Regions from separate parts of the Homo sapiens genome. Here region 1 is linked to region 2. Evidence: promoter capture Hi-C in human tissues and cell types (Jung and others, 2019). All regions are on one chromosome and are shown on one strand. The core of a region is centred on a gene start or on the middle of the fragment in contact, and the rest is flanking DNA. Distances in the headings are between cores, read along the strand shown.

Evidence for each region. Contacts are between HindIII fragments. The study calls those that stand out against the background at their distance.
Region 1: a fragment that was not itself captured here is called in contact with the fragment with the promoter of CPA6 in region 2 in 4 of the 25 tissues and cell types used here (dorsolateral prefrontal cortex, spleen, stomach and 1 more).

What each region holds. Positions count from the first base shown.
Region 1 is chr8:68,333,052-68,339,521 of GRCh38, reverse strand. All of the region lies in intron 1 of C8orf34 (chromosome 8 open reading frame 34), which reads right to left. Among named protein-coding and RNA genes, the nearest start is that of C8orf34-AS1, 4.8 kb to the right of the region's middle. The HindIII fragment of the contact is 3,576 bases long and covers 1,630-5,205 here.
Region 2 is chr8:67,745,042-67,751,119 of GRCh38, reverse strand. It overlaps CPA6 (carboxypeptidase A6), which reads left to right and starts at 4,760. Exons shown (of 11, transcript NM_020361.5): 1 at 4,760-5,106. The coding sequence starts at 4,991. RefSeq lists an enhancer at 4,434-4,934. The HindIII fragment of the contact is 6,623 bases long and covers 4,086-6,078 here.

The DNA.
Region 1 (6,470 bases), core at 2,168-4,667, 590 kb before region 2:
TCATTTATTTAGATATTCTTTAACTTTTTTTTAAGAGTTTTTATACTTTTTAGTGTAGGGGTCTTACATATCTTTTTAAAATTTAATTCCTAAGTATTTCATATTTTAATACCATTATAAATGGTACTTTTACTATTTTAACTTCTGATGGTTGTTTGCTTGAACATAAATATGTAATTGATTACCTATTACATAAACAGGTAATTGTAAAAGATACCTTGCATCTAAAACCTTAATAAACTTACTTATTATTTATTGTCTCTTTTTTGTAGATACCCTCTAATTTTCTACGTAGACTAAAAGTTGTTAAGATGTCAATTCTGCCTAACAGCACCTATAAATTCAACACAATCTGAATCAAAATTCCAGCAGGTATTTTTATATGAAAATTAACAAAATGATCCTAAAATTTATATGAAAATGAAAAGGATCTAGAACATATAATTCTTAAACCCCCAAAACAACCCAAATAAAAATGGGCAACATATTTGGACAGACACATCACCAAAGATATACGGAAGGCAAATAATCACAAGAAAAGAAAATTCATTGCATTAGAGATCAGAGAAGTATAAATTAATATAACAATGAGATATCATTACAAACCTATTAGAATGGCTAATGGGTTTCTGGCTAAAAAGACTGACAATACCAAGATTAGGTGAGGATATGGAACAACTGGAACTCCTATACACTGTTCACAGAAATGTAGAATTGTACATCCACTTTAATAACTAGTTTATTTAAAAATTTAACATATACCTACCATATGGTTCAGTCAATCCACTCCAGGTATTTACATAAGAAAAATGAAAGCACATAGCCATACGGAATACAACTCAGCAATAAAAGGAAATAAAAATTGGTAACATGCTGCAACATGGATGAATATTAAAATAATTAGGTTAATAATTATTAACTTAAAGATGTTAAAGAGGATATACCAAAAAATTTGCATAGTGTGTGATTTCATATACATGAAACTCTAAAAAATGAAACCTAATCCATAGTGACAAAAAGGAGATCAGTCATTGCCTGAAGATGCAGAAGGAGTAAGGAGAAGAGGAGTTACAAACAGGCTTCTAGACAGTAGGAAGGGCATATGAGGAGCCTGTTCCAACTGAGACAATGCATTTTAAGGTAATTTCCAGGAAATTCCAAACAACGTTTTCACTACATATGCTGTGGTTTGAATGTGGCCCCTTCAGAATTCATATGTTGCCAATCTGAAGGGGTTTATAAGTGAGGTCTTTAAGTGATGATTAGACCAAGAAAGCTGCTCCCTCATTAATGGGATTAGAGACCTTTTAAAAGAGGCTTCATACAGTGTTGGGCTAGCTTGCCTTCTGCCTTCTGCCATATGAGGACAAAGTAAGAGGGCCCTCACCAGACCAAATGCCAGCACCATGATCTTGGACTTCCCAGCCTCCAGATCTGTGAGAAATAAAGGCATTGTGTAATAGCAGCAGAAAAACTAAGAAAACACATCATTGACTCTGTGTCACTGACTATATATAGGTGCAAAGAAGATGCCACCATTTGTAATAAAGAAATTCTGTACACAAAGGAGAAAGTGTCTCCCTCAGCACTCTTTCTTATGTTCCAGCACTCTTGTGCATTTATTGTTTAAATATTTTTTTCAGATATTTCAAAATGATTTTGAGAGGGAGAAGAGGAAAATGCATATGCTTAGTTAACCAGAATTGCAAATTGTCTTTACTCAGATTTGTAGCTATTTATTGTATAAGCCATTTCCTCGTATAAACATTGATGAAATTCTGAACTACATTCACATAATTTACTGTTTAAAGAAACCCAATAGGTGAACTATTTTGCAAATACTGATTCCCTAGGTGCTCTTTAAAATTATTTTTAGTAATTTTTCTTTTAAGGTAATTTTAAATTATAGAAAAAGTATAGGAACAATACAAACAATTCCTTATTCCATTCACATAGAGACCACATTCAAATTTTGTCAACTTTCCCAATAATCTCTTTCATAACAGAAGTATTATATCTAGAACCATATTTTGCACTTAGTTGCCATGTCCCTTCAGTCTGAGGCCTCTCTTGACCCTCATGACTTTAACATTTTTGAAAACTCTAGAAAAGTTACTTTGTAGATTTTCTCTATTAGCTTTATAAGATATTTTCTCATTATTCAGTTCAGGTTATACATGATTGTCAGGAAAATCACAAAACAATGCTGTGTTGTTTTAAATGCATCCTATCATGGGCATACAATATTGCTTTATCCCATCACTTGAACGAAGTAGTGTCTGCCAGGTTTCTTTACTGTAAAGTCACTTTTTCCCTTTATAATTTACAAGTATTTTGTAGGAAGATACTTAGAGATTATGTAACATCTTATTGTTTATCCAACTTTTACCCATTAATTTTAGTACTGATTAATGTTTCTTGCCTGAATTATCTTTCAGATGGTTGCCAAGTAGTAATTTTCTAATTCCATCATCCTTCTACTTTTATTAGTTGGCATTCTACTATAAGGTAAAGTTTTCTCTTCTCCCCATGAATTAAGCACATTCCACATTCCATTAGATCCCAGTGAAGTAAAATATTCCTATTTTATTCAGTAAAATAATCTGTTACTATCATTCTTTATTTTGACCCTCAAGTTGTCTTAGGGGTAGGCACATCCTCTGTGTCCTTTGATACATACCTACTATTCTTTGAGCTCTTCCTTACTTTTTGACATATGATACTCCAAACCTTGCTTAGCCCCAAACCTGGAATCAACCATTTCTTCAAGGACACCTGGTTCTACTTAATGGAGAATGGTATTTAGAAACCAAAATGTGGATGCTAGGTGTGCTCATTGCTACCAGGATGTTGTTATTCCCAGGCCCTTCCAGTAGACAGAGTTGGGAAGTAAATGTAGGTATATGCACTTAAGTATATGTAAATACATACAAATCTATATTTGTTTCTATTACATCTATACCTGTTTCTATTATTGAAAGTCATGAGATCACACCAACACCTCCAATTTCAATCCAACACAACAAGGTTCATTCTAGCTTTCCCTATACTATCTCTGTGACTCCTATGTCCATCAGTAAGAAGGCTGACTTGAATATATATTTTTTCAATATATTTAATTATTTTCTGAATACCCTGCCCCCACCTTGTACGTAACAAATCTTCTGACCCTGCCAGGCCACTGCCCACTCAGCCCCTTTCTTTAATTGTGCTCTGATACTTTCCAGGTGAACTCCCAACTTAGCTCTCCTTGTCATATGGGTCTTAGCTGTAGTCTTAGCTGTTCTCTTTGTATGGTTCATGGCTTCTTAATTGAATTATGAAAAAAAAAAGGGAGGAAAGCCTATGTTATTTTTGTAGTCTCATATTTCCATTGATCACATTCTCTTAAGAGAGACCCACAAATATTAAAATACTATTTTTTTTCTTTTTTTTGTAATGGGGTCTCCCTCTGTTGCCCAGGCTGGAGTGCAATGGCATAATCTTGGCTCACTGCAACCTCCACTTCCTGGGTTCAAGCAATTCTCCTGCCTCAGCCTCCCGAGGAGCTGGGATTACAGGTGTGCATCACCATGCCTGGTTAATTTTTGAATTTTTAGTAGAGATGTGGTTTCACTGTGTTGGCCAGGCTGGTCTTTGGTCTCAAACTCCTGACCTCAAGTGATCCAGCTGCCTCAGCCTCCCAATGTGCTGGGACTACAGGCATGAACCACCATGCCTGCCCAAAATATTATTTCTTTTTTCAAATTTATTGATGCCATATTGGTATATGTACATATTACTATTTCTAAGGTTATATAGTGATTTATTGAATTGAATTTTGGGTCACTTTATTAAGCTATTTAAAAGCTGCATGAAAATAAAATACATTAAGGCAGAAATGAAAAATAAATGGGCTGGTAATAGAAACATGTTAATTAAAGTAACATTTTAAAAAACTGTTTTGAAGTAAGTCAATGACAACACTTAACTTGGACTCTAGGCAAAATTTTATAAAATGGAACTGCTTTGTCTTCTGCCTCCTCTAAATGCTCTGAGATTATAAAGATTAATGCAAATTTTGATATAGGAAAAGTCTTCATAACTTTGAGCACTGGGGAAGATCACCTGACAATCATTACTCCAAAAAATATATTTACAATATTTAAGTTGAACATATTATAACTACCAAGCTTATATTTTATTACTTCTCTAATAAAAGCATTTTCCTAATCATTTTTATTAAAATGACACTTTTACCTTTATTAACGACAAATTATTTTTAAACATTAAAATATCTTTCTGGAGGGGTATTTTACCTCTGGCCATAAGTGAGTAACTAGTATCCTTCTTATCCCCAAACAACTGCCCTAAACAATCATAAGCCTGCCTAAATTAGACAAAAATATTTCTTTTCATGTATTAAATAACAGGTAGCCCACGGCTGTGATCCTTATGAGAGGGGGAACAACGAAAGGAGATCTCCGCAGACACTACAGCTCTCTGATAAACGCAAGGAGCATTTTTTAGATATGATCAGGGAGGTCAATAAAGTGAAATAATGGGCTTGCTGAGGGTTGGCAGCAAATTGGAGTTCAGGGTTGCATACATGGCTGGAAGAAGTGCCGTGGGGTACCAGAGAAGAGCAAGCTGGGCAACAGCAAAATATATAAGTGATGCAGGCTTTGATCATAAGTTTGATAAGTCCATTTTATAACATATATGCCAAATCAGTTAATGCAAATTTACACCATGTGAGTAGAAGCACTTTGAGTGGAACAGAGAAGGTGATAGTGATTCCATTCTATTTGGAGTGGGTCATACCATACTTAGAGAAATGTAGTGACTTTTGTTTGCCACATCTTCAGTACACAAATTTAAAAATTCCATGGTGATTTTATGAAGATCCCCACTATTTGGCTTCTTAGTAACTTAAGATTTCACACTCTTGTGAGTGTGATCAGGCCTGAACCAAGATATATAACTGCCCTGAGCACTCTTCCAATCAATAATGGGAGAAACTCAAAAGTTTCTATTTCTTTATATAAAATGTGTGTGTACACAAACATACATGGAATATATATATTCCACTATATATAATATTTATATATATTACAAATATTTATCTTGTAAGATGTAAACCATTACATCTTACAAAAATTAGAAAGTTTGTGAAATGTATTTTTCATCTTACACCTTCATATTATCTAATCAGAATATCATTGTCCAGAATTCTAATGCAATGATTTTTAGGCATAGTTTTGTAATGCTCCAAAACATCTTCAATGAAATTTAAAAGTAGTACAAATTTATTCACCTGAGTCAGCTGGAAACAAAATTAATTTCAATTTAAAATAAATTTTGAAACACCATACTGCATGTAACACTTTAATAAGCATCTCAAATCATAAAATATTAGCAATAAACTAAGTAAGAAATAAACTAAGTGAACAAACTAGGTAAATAAGCCCTACAGGTAAAAAAGAGGATCAAGTATTCTCAATATCAGTGAATAGGTTACTTTTTGCTATTGTTTTAAAAAACATTCATAGATTATCTTTAAAGTATCTCATACCAATTAAGTTTTCTTAAAACATTCCTAACTTAAACTATCCACAAGGGGGACATATTATCAGATACCGCATATTTTCCAAACTGAAAGAAGCCTGTGTCAGCTACACTGACTCAACACAACAAAGCATAGATGACAAGACATGAAGCGGCCAATTTCAATTTGTGAGTGGTAAAAGGAGATTTTAGCTCAGTTTCTCAAAATGTGGCCCAGAAATTAAAATTGTAGCAAACATTTGTGCTGCTTCTAAATATGTTCAGATTGCTGGGCACCTCCTCTGACCCAAATCAATTCCTGTGAAAACTATTGAGTAAGGTCCTAGAAGAGAATGGACGGTCTCTAGGTCAACAATGTCCATTTCACAGGTGGCACTGGTTTTCTAACATGAAACAAGTAGGCTACACGCTAGTAAAATCTTCCAATTTTGTGAAATACGTATAATTGTACTCTCAAAGTCAAGCTCTATCATGATCAAAATTGTTGCATAAGGAACTGTGTTACATCCAGCTTTTATTAAAAGAGAATTTATTATCCATTTTTCTCCCTTCAATTATTTAAAGTGGACATCAAACCTTAAAAAATGCACTACTCATCACTGCAATCTAAGCTAATGCCAGTGTATGTCATATGTATTCAATAAAATACGAAGCATGGTGGTGCTTGTTTTTTGGTGAGGGGACCTAAAGCTTTTATGAGACACGTTGCTATCACTTAAAATTCTTCAGCGCATAACTTGCTGGTGAGCATCAAAAGGTGGGGGTTAGGGGGCACTTCATAAATATCCATTTGAGTTTATTTTCTAATTCTGCAGAAAGTTTACATATATTCCTAATTTTATTATTATTAAAATCTTGGGGATTTTAAGATAACAAATTAAAACAGTATTTATTAAAAACAATTCATTTATTCTCCCAGGCTA
Region 2 (6,078 bases), core at 3,511-6,010:
GAAGAGGTCCTAGCAGCTCTGGGCTGAAAGGCGTGCCAAGGCTTTGTTAGCAGATGTCTGCTGTGTACCCAGCACTGCCCTAGGCACTGTGGAGTACAAAGACAGACATAATCGAGTGCTTGGCATGGAGGAGTTTTTCATAAATGGTAATACAGAGTTGTGTCAACACAGTCAAACATAAGGGTGTATATGAATAAGTGCTGTCCACTCAAAGAAGGTGACCACTGCAGATAGAAATGGATTGGAACAGCTTCATGGGAGATACTGACTTGAGCTGGGTCTGGCAGGGATGGAAGGATTTGGCCAGATAGAGACAGAAAGGCTGAATGGAGATGGCCACTGGTATCAAGGAAGCACCATAAACAAACACAGAGGAAGGACACAGCTGGAGAGGATACAGAGTCTTCAGAGAATACTGAGGAAGATAAAAATGAAAATGTTTTCGAGGGCCTTGAATGCCAAGCTGAGGAGCCCGAATGCCACTCTTCATCCTGTCGAGATTCACTGGCAGACAGCTCCTGCTGCTCCCTGTGCCTGCAACGGTCTCATCCCATCCCTTATTCCCTGCACACCACCATCCTCCTCTGGGCATGACTGGCTCCTTCTCATCCTTGGTTTAGACGTCCACTTCCTCCCAACACCCTACACATGCGATCCGTACCTGCCCTCTTAACTTTGCATCACAGCATCTCTGATTTGTTCCTATAGGATTAATGGAACCACCAAATGTAACAAGGAGTTTGTGTAACTACCTAGCCCCTCCACCAGCACTGAGTGTCACAAAGCCAGAAACCATATCTGCAGCAATGGATCAAGAAGAGAAGAAGGCAGGCAGAGGCCTCATAAAATGTCTACTATTTAAGCAGGCAGAAATTAGAGAGGAACCCCAGGAAGGACAGGAACAGAAGAAGACAATATCTCAGAGCCCAAGGGAGAAGAGAGTTTCAAACAGCAACTGGCAAGCAGCCTCAGAAGCCATGCAGATGTGGAGTAGGGTGAGAACAAAACATTTTTCCACTTAGAAATCACCGCTGATATTTGAGAGAAAGTTTCAGCGGGGTGGTAGGGAGGCAAAGCCATGGTCAAGGTTCAAGAGTGCACTTCTGGCCAGGCGCTGTGGCTCACGCCTGTAATCCCAGCACTTTGGGAGGCCAAGGCGGGCAGATCACGAGGCCAGCAGATCGAGACCATCCTGGCTAACACGGTGAAACCCCGTCTCTATCAAAAAATACAAAAAATTATCCGGGCGTGGTGGTGGGCGCCTGTAGTCCCAGCTACTCAGGAGGCTGAGGCAGGAGAATGGCGTGAACCCAGAAGGCGGAGCTTGCAGTGAGCCGAGATTGCACCACTGCACTCCAGCCTGGGCGACAGAGCAAGACTCCGTCTCAAAAAAAAAAAAAAAAAAAAAAAAGAAGAAGCCTGGGAAACGAAAAAGAAAAAAGAAGCCAAGCGGCTTGTGTTTAAGGATGAAAGAACTGTGGTTAGCTGATGAGAGAAAGACTAAAGACACGGGAACAAGACAGGATAGCTGATGGTGCTGAAGACAGCTGGGAGGGAATCGTCAGTGAGGTGTTGTTAAGGGAAGCTTCAGAACATTCCTCACAGACTTGCCAAGACCGCATGGGGCAGTAGCCTACCTTCACATTTGCTGTTTCCTTACCTGTTGGAATAGTGGCAGAACGCTATAAAAAAGAAGTGACAGGCGATAAGGTCTATGCAAATAGCATGTTGAGGAATGATCACAAACTGCAACGGGAGGGATGTCTGTACAACTTTTGTCTGAAGAAAGTGCTACCACACTGTTTATCTTCTCCAGATAGCTTTAACAACGTAAATCTATGTAGCTCTCACTCATATACCTGAGGAAAGAAATTGCAAAATCTTCCTCCATGGTATCATAGAATTTCAGTTCTGGAAGAGACATTAAAAATGATCTCATCATCAACAATGGACTCGAATCAAGGATGATATTTTCTTTTCCCAAGTAGTTTCATTTCTTTCTGTGCATGGTAATATTTCTTTTAATAAAGTTCACTCTTCCACTAAACTATGATAAAGGCATAGCCAATAAATAGAACTTCTCATCTTCCCATCTCCAAATCCCTAGCTGGTTTAATAATTCACTCCCTCTCAGTGCCTTAAAAATGGAACTTTTATCTTTGAATTCATCTATAAAACTGTTCCCTCCTCCTCCCATTTGCTAAATGGACTCCATTTATCTCTCATTTTATGGGAGCTTATCTACTCCAAGAGAAGTTTGATCAGATAACCTGGTCCTTAGTAAAACAGAGAATGATTGCTAGGTATGGCTTCTATTGTTTGAGAACCTCTCTTTGATCTGAAATTTTTAGGAAGGTTACAGGATGTCACCGGAGTTTCTGGCATTTTTGATGGTCCAGGAAATGATTCCTTTGGTCTCAGAGTCTGGAGAGCCTCTGCCGAACATGCTTGCGGGATCCAATCCTTCAGAATGATTTGAGGATGAGTTTAATTCTCAGTCAGAGACTGAACATTCCTAGTTTAATGTTGTGATATAATATGACAGATTTATACATTGTTCTGACATAGCGAAATGCAAAGAGATGAAGTGTTTTATTTACACAGTAACCTCTTATTTCCACAGATCATTGGCTTTCCTGGGCTCATCTAAAAGGCCTGTGAGTACTGCTGTGAGTCTTGCAGAGCAGCCTGACCAGTTTAGGAAGACAAAAGTACAAGGCCAGGAAGTCAGGAAAGAAGGCAACATAAAAAAGAAACGAAACCAGACATGATCACCCGGGGAACTTCCACTCTCCAAAAGCACCCATAGTGTTCTCTGCTCCCAAGGTGCTCTCTCCTCTATCTGGACACAGAAGCATCTATGTTAATGTTTGTTAAATGAATTTCTTCCCTGGTTCATCGTTCATCCAACAGACATCGTTGATCACTCCTTCAGGAAACATTGTATTCCCTCGAGGAGGTATAAGGAAGTGCACAGGAAGACCAAAAGGATACAGTTCTGTATTCAAGGAGAAAGCAGCCTCATGAGGAAACCAGACAAGAAATTTGATGTGGTAATTCCTACAGTAGAGGACATGCCAGGATTTGTGAGGGACACAGAGGAGGCATTAACCAAACTGATGCTGAGAAAGTTGCAGAAAAATTCAGAGCATCATTTCAAATGAAAACCATTTCAGCTGTTTCATGAACCTGACATTGAATCTGTCAAAGGAGTTTTGGTTCAACTCCCCAGGTAGAGAAGATGGGAAAGATTGGGTGCTCTCTCTTCTAACAGGGACTCTGGCTATAGTATTAGAGGGTACAGGAGTTCTTGGCTATGACTCTCCAGGAAGCCTGAAAAGTTTTGTGAGTGTGATGAGGAAATAGTGGCTCACTCTCTGTTTTAGAGCACAACCAGGACTGGGCATGAAAGGTAACAGGAGGCACCCTAGGTGCCTATGCTTATTTAATAGGGCGAGGCACATCCCCTGTAATGGGTTTTGTGGCGTATTGGAATAGGAGCAAGTGGATGCAAATAATAATTTTAAAAAGCTTTCATCATCAACATGGGAAAAAAGAGAAGGAAATGGTTTTCTCCAAGGTTTGCTTGGAAGAAAAAGCAGACCTCATTCTAAAGTGAAGTCTTGCTACTCCAAGTGTGGCTGAAGAGCCAGTGGCACCAGCATCACCTGGAAGCTTCTTTAGAAATGCAGACTCGGCCAGGCGTGGTGGCTCACACCTGTAATCCCAGCACTTCGCAAGGCCGAGACAAGCAGATTGCCTGAGGTCACGAGTTCAAGACCAGCCTGACCGACATGGGGAAACCTCGTCTCTACTAAAAATACAAAAATTAGCTGGGCGTGGTGGTAGGCACCTGTAATCCGAGCTACTCAGGAGGCTGAGGCAGGAGAATCGCTTGAACCTGGGAGGCGGAGGTTGCAGTGAGCCGAGATGGGGACTTGGCACTCCATCCAGCCTGGGCAACAAGAGCGAAACTCTGTCTCAAAAAAGAAAAATAAAAACTCTTAGGCCCCTGTTCCAACCTACGTCAGAGCTGCAGTTTAATGAGATCCCCAGGTGACTTCTATGCATGTGGAGCTCTGAGAAGCCCTGCTCCAGACCAGCATGGTGGTTGAATATTGGAATCACCTAAGGAGCTTTTTAAACCACTGATCCCACCACCACGGTTTCTATTTTCAAGGTCTGGCTCCCTAAATGATTCCAAATGTACAGCCAAGGTGGCAAAGCACTCGAAGGCCTCCTATTCCCCACGAGAACCTCTGAAACAGCAGCAGGTCTGGGTGCTGCTGATGCAGAATGAGTACCAAGATCTCCCTGAAGCCCAATAAAGCCACTGACCACTCCTGTAAGTCAGGAGCAGTGAACTGAAGCCAGCTGTTCGGATCTGGGTGCTATAGGTACCCCCGTGCACGTTCTCATCATGATTGTTCATTGTGCATTTCATTAGGTGGAATCCGTTTAGGAATCTGTCATGGGAGATCAAAAAAACATTAAGCTTGGAATAATCCATGTCTGCTTGTTTAGCCCATCAGACAAATCATTTGCAATTAGGTAGGATCCTCATGCTGAAGAAGATAGAGAAAGAAAGCTTGCACAGAAAAGTTAGAGGCCTCAAGTTGGGAAAGCAAACAAACCAAAAGCAGAGAGGAGTCACCCAAAGGAAGCAGCACCCAGTGAACCCCTGCCGTGAGTCAGCACGAGGGAGGCCCAGCCCTTTCTAGGGGAGCCTGATTAAAGATCAGGCTCAGCTGCTGCTGCTGCTGCTGCTGCTTGTCCCAAGACCAAGTCGTAATAGCAACTTCCCTTCCTCAGCTGCCTGAACTTTTTTTTTCCCTTGTAGCTGGAGAGAAGTGTCACATTTTGCTCACTCTCAACCTTCCTCGCCCACCCCCTTCCCGGAGAACCTGTGCGGTGTGTAGAGGGTGCTGTGAGCCACCTCCAGCCTCGGGTGGCTGCTTAAGTAACTTTCAACTCCTCTCTTCTTAACACTATGAAGTGTCTCGGGAAGCGCAGGGGCCAGGCAGCTGCTTTCCTGCCTCTTTGCTGGCTCTTTTTGAAGATTCTGCAACCGGGGCACAGCCACCTTTATAACAACCGCTATGCTGGGTAAGTGGAGCGACATTCATGCCCTACACAGCTTTGATTTGGATCTGGGGGCTGGTTTGCTCCAGAGTGTGCCTCACTTTTTCTGATTTGGGGGTCTCTGAGTGAATCTGCACACTTTCACGGTCCTCTATATAAAATGTACTCACAGCTCTCTGCTCTTGGCTTTAGCTCACTGAGAGAATGTGGTGGGCTCCAACCTGGCTTTTTATACTTTTTATCATGTGCCAACCTTAGCTGTGGACCCAGGGTTGAATGGGATTCTGTCTTTGGAGTAGCCATGGTCAGTATTTACAGTGTTTGCCTTGGTTGATGCTTGGGGATGCTGTTGTCCTACATGATTTATGACCTGAAAACTAAGCCTTTCTTTACAATTGTATGTAGGAGCGGTGGGTTGAAATTCATCAGTGATTAAGAACTGAGTGTGATTTTTTTTTTGTCTGTGCTTATTAGTCTGTAGAGTGGTTATTAGATTTTTAAATATGAGCAATGCAAATGATTCAACTCAAAATAAGCAGAATAAAAGTAGTCAACTGTAAAATTATGGATAGTTTTTCTGAAGGAAAAACATAGGAGTAAAACAATCAGTTTTGTCCCCCCTCCGTAGGTAAGCATGCTTTCTATATGCCTTTCTTCAGGAGGCAGAGGGCTGGAAGCCGTGTGTTACTATGCACATTCTTATTATCCTGAAGGCTTGCTGTGGTATAGACAGCATGTGATTTGCTCACATATGCAGGGGGTCGTTCTTAGAATCTGGAAATTATGGCTTGCCTGCACTTTAGATCTGGAAAAACCTTAAATACTTCCTCTAGTTCAATTCCTTTTTACAGAGGAGTAAACTCAGTGTCTTACATATTTTTAAATAGGCTACTATCATTCAATAATCACCACCTGAGAAAAGTTTTCATGTAGATCTGGATCATGACAAGGTAGTGTACAGTGTCTTAAAACCAAGTTGTTCTTTTTAGAAATAGT